2 separate regions of the Homo sapiens genome follow, and region 1 is linked to region 2. Evidence: promoter capture Hi-C in 16 types of primary human blood cells and fetal thymus (Javierre and others, 2016). All regions are on one chromosome and are shown on one strand. The core of a region is centred on a gene start or on the middle of the fragment in contact, and the rest is flanking DNA. Distances in the headings are between cores, read along the strand shown.

Evidence for each region. Contacts are between HindIII fragments. The CHiCAGO score rates a contact against its expected background, and 5 or more counts as called.
Region 1: a contact is called between a fragment that was not itself captured here and the fragment with the promoter of ANKRD27 in region 2, in 1 of 17 cell types (monocytes). The highest score is 5.3, in monocytes.

The regions. Positions count from the first base shown.
Region 1 is chr19:33,797,095-33,800,570 of GRCh38, reverse strand. It overlaps KCTD15 (potassium channel tetramerization domain containing 15), which reads right to left. Exons shown (of 7, transcript NM_001129994.2): 2 at 1,805-1,903; 3 at 51-143. The coding sequence starts at 116. Among named protein-coding and RNA genes, the nearest start is that of KCTD15, 2.0 kb to the right of the region's middle. RefSeq lists an enhancer at 1-588. The HindIII fragment of the contact is 1,346 bases long and covers 1,488-2,833 here.
Region 2 is chr19:32,673,207-32,676,706 of GRCh38, reverse strand. It overlaps ANKRD27 (ankyrin repeat domain 27), which reads left to right and starts at 1,527. Exons shown (of 29, transcript NM_032139.3): 1 at 1,527-1,636. It overlaps RGS9BP (regulator of G protein signaling 9 binding protein), which reads right to left and starts at 859. Exons shown (of 1, transcript NM_207391.3): 1 at 1-859. The coding sequence starts at 443. RefSeq lists enhancers at 163-212, 983-1,092, 980-1,599 and silencers at 613-672, 1,243-1,972, 1,993-2,042. The HindIII fragment of the contact is 4,511 bases long and covers 1-3,141 here.

The sequences.
Region 1 (3,476 bases), core at 911-3,410, 1.1 Mb before region 2:
AGGGAAAGAGGGAACTCCCGGCAGGGACCCAGCCCACCCTGCAGGCTCACCGCGGTGCCGGTGCTGCCGTGTGTGTGAAGCGAGGACCCGCTCGGCCGCTCCTTGCGGTGAGGCATCTAGGCTTCCATCCCTGCCCAGAGTATCTGCGGGAGGCATCGACAAAACCAGAGAAGGCTTATTCCTCCTAGTCATGTACCATGGGGTCAAAGACACTTAGAATTGTCCTTTCTGCATGCTCTCTGAGACCCTGCGAGGTCCATGCAGCCCTCCCTGATTGACTCCACCGCCACTATCTCTCTATCTGTCTCCACACCCCAAAGCAGGCCTCCAGGCTGTAGCAGATGACACACACATACATGCACACACACACAGTCACACTCACACATGTGTTTTCTGGGCAGCTCCATGTCTGCTAATTCGGCTAATGACAGCACTGAAACATATGCTCACCATTATTGCCCCAAAATATTTCAGAACAAACCAGATTTTCCTGGTATTTTCCTTTCAAGCCATGTTACCAAGCGTGTCTCCTCTTGCAACAGCCTTGTGGACCAAGGCTCAGAAAGCACCCCTCACCCTCCATGGGCCAGGGAACCTAGGACCTCTCTTAATACCATCCCCATGGTGATAAGATACAGCTTGCATCTGGCCAGACACAGGGAAGCCGTTCAGCAGAAGTCCAGGCACATGGATGAGGGCAAGTCACTTGGGAAGCCGCCTCTTCTCTGTGGCTCCCAATAGCAGAGAAAACCTGTCTTTGTTTGCCTAGTCTGTACCTCACAGTTTCTCCCCAGACTCCCAGAGTGGTGTTGTCTATGCCTAATGCATTCCAGACCCCTCAGGATCACATACCCCCGAGGCATCAGGAGATGGCCAGGTGGCCAGGAGGAAGCACAGAGCAAGCAGATCAGCCAATGGACCCTTTCTACTGCTCCTCCCCAGAGGCACTCAGTAACTCTCCTCTGTGCCGTAGTCACCTGAAATAAGATTGTCCCTCAGTCCCTGGAAGCCACACCCAGGGGCGCTTTGCAGGCCCTATGCAGGAGGGGCAGAATTCTGCAGCCCCGTTCACTGATTTACAGCTGTCTCAAAAGGGAGGAAAGAGGAGATTTGCACGTGAATAGTCACCCCCCTTCACACATCCACAGACACTGGCTTCCACAAACCTACCCTGGACGTCTCTCGAAGGTTTAACCTTTAAGAGAGAAACCACTTGAAATTCTTGGGACCCATGGGATTGCTTTTTCCCATTAAAACTCTGGGATCAAAATTTGTGCCTTGAAATTCAATATCCAATTTTAATCCAACCAGAATCAAATCCTGCAAATGTAAGCAAGGTTGCTCTCCCTGAGTGCCCGGGCAAGTTTCCTGACATAAAACTGGGGTGGGAGGTTGCAATGGGCAGACAGTGATGTTTAATATATACCCTCACTGGGGCCTGTGGACTCAGAATCCACTGCTTTTGGCATTCCTGAGTTCTACAAGCTTAAAAAAACAAAACCAGGTCACTTAGCTCAAGGAGTTCTGAGAACCAAAACAGACCTCAGGAATGGATTATCCTGCCCTAGGAGGCTCTGCTGGGGGAGGAGTCAGAAGGGAAGACGCGCTGAGGATAAACTGAACAGGAAGGAATTCTGGCTGAAATTCTATCAAAGCGGACTGCAAGATGTTTTCCCCAATACCAGGACACTATTCCAAAGTGACGTGAACACCAAGCCTCCATCACAGAAGCCGCTCCACTCTGTTCTTAGCCCCTTTTCCCTCCCAAGAACAACCTGATGTTCATGGCAAGCCAGAAACTTACCGTTGGAAGCCCCAGGCTTTACGCCTTGCCGTGAATCTCCAAGGTTTCTCCCAACAAGCGCATCCGTGCGGGACCACGACCCTCTTTCCGAGACCACTGCTTAAGTCAGAAGCACAAAAGTGGGTGCAGTGAGAGATACAAGTTCATTCCACCAGCACCAGCATCAAACCCAGCACCCAGCCCCAGTGCGCCCTGGCCCGCCTGTTGCAGGGGCCTCAGCGATAGCGGTCGGGAGGGCCCACAGGTTTCCAAACTGGCCCGGTAGTGACCCGCTTCTCCAGCTGCGGCGGGAGACCCGGGTCCCTGCCCGCCCGCCGCCGAGCCCCGCCCGCCCGAGCAGAGAGAAGTGAGCAGAATGCCACGCTCATTTACACACAAAATGATTTTGTGTCCCATTGCGCTCGCAGTTGTTCGGCTCTCTGGGGGTGATTAAACTGGCTGAGCTGCGGCAGCTTGAGACGATTTCACTAAATCGCTTCTTCTGAAGTCGCTTCTTTGCTAAGCTGTTATTTTAACCATAAAAGGTAAACAGAAGGCGCCTCTCGAGCTCCCCTCGGCTCCGCACTCAGGGCGCTGGCCCGGGGCGAAAGTCCTGGGGGCCTGCACAATTGTCCCAGGGGTGGCCCCGGAGAGGCAGGCGGGCCACCTGGTGCGCGCCAGCCTCCCCACCCCCCCCCTCCCGCCTCCGCCGCGGAGCCAGCCGGCCGGTGTGAACTTAGGGGCGACGGGAGAGGGCTTGGGCCAAGGCTGGAGGCGCCGCGGGGCGGGGTGGCCGCGGCACCCGAAGCGCGGGGCTGGGCTGGGAGGGGTTGCCGCGGAGGCGGGGCGGGGACAAAGTTAAATCAAGAGGCAGACACTTGGAGACCACAGATGGGAAGCTCGCCTAATTAAGGACGTAAAAGCGCTTTTGTTCTCAAAGTTTATTGTTGCCGGGATTAAAAAAAAATTAATTGAAACTAATGCTGTTATTCACTCGTGCAGTTAAATTCCTTCATGCACATTTGAGATACGGAGCGAAAACTTGAAGCTTATCTTTCTGCAGTCGCGGGTGGGGGCCGCCGGAAGACAGAAAGGCGCTGCAGAGGCGGGGGTCCGCCCCCGGGTGTGTTTGCGAGTGTGTGCCGGGTGCGCGCGTCCAGGTCAGGGGGTGCGGGCGGGCAGCGGGGAACCGGATCTGCAGGCGGCGATCCCTCCCATCGCGGCCCCTCTCCCAGCCCCAAACCCTGCGCGCCCGGGACCACCACCAGCGCGACAGCCCCTCCTGCCAGGTTTCGGACTCGTGGGGTGGGCGTCAGAGGACGCACATCTGTCCCACTGGAGACTTTCTCTGATTTTGGGCGCCAAGCCGGGACTTGTGCATCCCGAAGCCCCAGTTGCGTGAGCCCGTTTCTGACCCCGGAAACTCGCCAGCTCTGCAGGGCGCTCGGCCCAGAACAGGGGCCAGAGTGCGGGGACCTCCACAAGCGCGCGCGCGCGCGCGCGCACACACACACACACACACACACACACACACACACACCGCGCGGCAGGAAGCTCCGAGACCGCCCGCGTGGGGAGGGTCCACCCGCGGCCAGGACCAGCCCACGTGGGCAACCCCACTCTTGCACCAGGCCTTTGTGCTGGGCACCCCCGCGCCGCCAGCCCCCGCCGCCCAGCAGAGGGACAAAGCGGC
Region 2 (3,500 bases), core at 278-2,777:
CGCAGGTCCGCGACGTCGAAGTCGCCCTCCGCCTCGAGCCGCAGGCTGCGGGTGCTCAGCGCGCGCGCCGCCACGCCGGAGGAGGCGCCAGCCACACCTGTGCGCACCAGCGGCCGCCGCGGCGCGTGCAGCGGGAACGCGGCGCCCAGCTCCAGCGCGCGTCGCATGTCCGCTTCCAGCAGGTCCAGGCAGCCCGAGAAGGCCACCCAGAGCCGCTCGAACTCGGCGCGCTCGTCGGCGGCCAGGCCCCGGTCGCGCAGCACAGCAGTCAGCCGGGCGCAGGTGGACACCGCCAGCTCCTGCGCCTTCTGGCGCGTCTTTTGCAGCTCCTGCCGCAGGTTCTGCGAGTCCGCCGAGCCACCGACGGTCAGCACCAGGTGGTGGTAGCACGCAGTCGTCTTGTTGAGCCCGTCCAGCAGCGCCTTGCACTCCTCCCTCGCCATCGCGGTGGGCTCCGGCTGGGCCCGGCCGCCCGCGCCCGTTAGCCTCCCCCTCAGCGCGGCAGGATGTGGCTAACCCCCATCCCGGCCTTGGGCCGCGCGGCACGAACGCTCTTCATGGTCCGTGACTCGCTCGGCGCTACCGCCAACGTCCACGGAGCCCGCCCGGGACCCTCGACGTGCGCCTCTGCGGACGGGGCGCGCAGAGGGAGCCCCGTTAGCGGTCCCCCGCTCCCTCGTCCATCCTCCCCAGGCGCACTCCGAGTCACACGTCGTGTCTCTGCACCGCCCTGGCCTCCACGGTGGCTCCCTGCGAAGCTGAGGGTGCGGTCCCCATCCTCCGTGGGTGCCAACTCCGGGGCAAGCAGGCTGCAGAGCCGCGCGCTCCGCCTTAGGCGCTGCCAAGGGCGGCCGGGTAGGGTTTCCTAGGACCCGCCCACCCCGCTCGTCCCGGCCGGAGCTGCCACCCCCTGGATCAGTGGTAGGCGGGGCTCCACGCGGGGAGGTCACGTGTGGGTGGCCCATCCCTCCCTCCCCTTCGCCCCATCCGAGTTCTGGAATGTTAGCGCTCGGGAGATCCAACCCGTTCTATTTTACGGATGGGGAAACTGAGGCCCAGGTAAAAAGCGGGCCAGGCTCCCGCGGAGTTTTTGCCTGTGATGGGACTAGAACCCAGCTATACTGACTCCCGGACCCTGTCGGCGACAGGACGTCGGGTGCCCCGCAGGACTGGGCACCTCCGTGCCCCAAAGCGAGCAGTGACTGGCAATCCGAGGGGCTGGGCGCCGCCGGGGTCAGGTGTCCCTGCCGCGTTGCGCTCACGTTGGTCGGTGCTTCCAAGCGCTAACCCCACCTCTAGTGTCAGCCCGGCTCCCAGCCCCGCCCCTCACGTTCTGGGCACGCGCAGTTGCGGGCGTGGGGCGGGGCCAGCTGGAGTAGGAAGCGTAGGGAGCCGCCTGAGCCCCGCCCCCGGCTGGGCTGGACTCCATGATTGCTCTGCGTACACGTCACTCTGGGAAACGACGGTTTCTCATTGGGTCAGCTGTGGCGCGGCTCCGCCCCACGGCGGAGTAAGGGGTGGGCTATAGGGCCAGATCGCCGCGCGAGGGTGGTGGGCATCGAGGTCCCAGCAGCGGACGAGGGAGGTGCCGCCGTCGCCCAGGATGGGCTGGGAATGAAGCGATGTAGCCTTTTAAGTAAGTGTCCTCGCGCTGGCCTCCTCCTGCGCCTCCCCTCCCGCGGGATGGCTGCGCCTCGGGGCGCGGCGGCCGGGCGGGGCCCGGAGAGTGAGGGGGGAGGGGCTCCCTGCTCTCCGGAGTCCGCTCCCGGGTCCGCCAGGTGGCCCCGCGCCGCCCCAGCCCCCGCGTCCCCAGGTGGGTGCCCGGTGCGCAGCCGGCGCGCCCTGCCCACTCCGCCCCTCGGGTCTGGAGGAGGGGAGCGGTCGGCGCGGAGAATGCACCCTCCGAGCCTCGCTGCGTCGACACCGGCGGGTGTGGCCGGGGTGCCGGGTCCGGCGGTTCGGATCTGGCGGGGCGCGGGGCGGTCGCCGCGCGGTTTCCCGGAGGCCTAGGGTCTGCTGGAGGGGAGCGGCGGGTGGGGGTCCGAGCCGCGCGCGCAGCGGTTGTGGTTTCCGGGGGGTGATGAGGGCGCGGAGCGGGGAATCCCTGGCTGCCGGCCTCTCGCAGGGCGGGGGGGTCTCTGCATTCCCACAGGTAAAGATTGTTAAAGGAAAACTCTTAAGCACCGAGAGATGTTCCGGATTCTGAGTCTGTTCCGTCTTGTGGTTGAAAATGGACTGCCCAGGAGCACACGAGCCACGCGGTGCCCCCTTGGCTGCCCCACGAGGTGCAGGGGACGTGGGCACTCGCGGCCTGTGCTGGGCGAGGGAGCAAGGGACGGGTCTTCGCTGAGGATTTAGAGCATGCAGGGAACGAGGGCTGCTGGCAGTGCTGGAGGGACTGTGAGGCTGCAGAGAGCTCAGATTTTACAAGTTGATGGGTTTCATGGATAGAGGCCCCTATTTTGATTAAAAAATGCACTCTTCCCACTGGCCGAAGAGTAGAGCAGTGGATATTTTTTTTCTTTTCTTTCTTTTCGTTTTTTTCTTTTTGAGACAGGGTCTGGCTCTGTTGGCTAGTCTGGAGTGCAGTGATGCCATCATAGCTCATTGCAGCCTCAAACTCCTGGACTCAAGCAATCCTTTCACCTCAGCCTCTGTAGTAGCTGGGACTACAGGCGCATGCCACTATGCACGGCTAATTTTTAATTTTTTTTTTTTTTTTTTGTAGAGATGGAGTCTAGCAGGTTGCCTAGGCTGGTCTTGAACTCCTGGACTCAAGCCATGCTCTCGTCTTGGCCTCCCAAGGTGTTGGGATTACAGGCACTAGCCACCACGTTTTGCTGAGCAGTAGCTGTTACGTTTCGAGATCAGCCTGGCATGAGGACTGGTGTTGAGGTGGCCTAAGGGTCCGGTGTACTGAGCCCCGGGGCCTGCTGTCACCCAGGGGTCCGTCCTTTAACTGGGTGAGCAGTAGGCTGGGTGTTTGCTGCCAGGGCTTGGGTACTCCTGGCCTTGACCATTGTGTGGAAGGGGGGTTCTCAGCCACCCACACGCTACATAGGGTCGTTCCCAGGGGGATAGTAGTTTTCAGGACAAAATGGGTGGAAAGAGGGAAAATACTCTTTCCCTTCGGGGGAAGCTTTGGAGACAGCAGAGGGTGAGGAAGCTGCAAAGGTGGCCAGAGGCCAGATGTGCCAGGTCCTGAGCACCTAGCAGAGAAGTTGAGGGCTCACCTGGTGGGGAGTGCAGGGGAATCCTTTGAGGAATCCTGCAGAGCTCGGCGCTGGAAAGATCGCTTTGTTGTGTTGCTGGTGGACAGGCGTGAGTGAAATCCAGGGGGCAGATCCAGGAGGCACAGCCCGTAGGCCTTGGAAGGAGGGGATGCAGGATGGGAGCAGGAGCAGAGACTTCTTCTGACCAGCCATAGGGACAGGAATGCACCTGGGGATCTGACATTGGATAGACTTACATTCCCAAGTTACACCCAGTCTTGCCTGGTG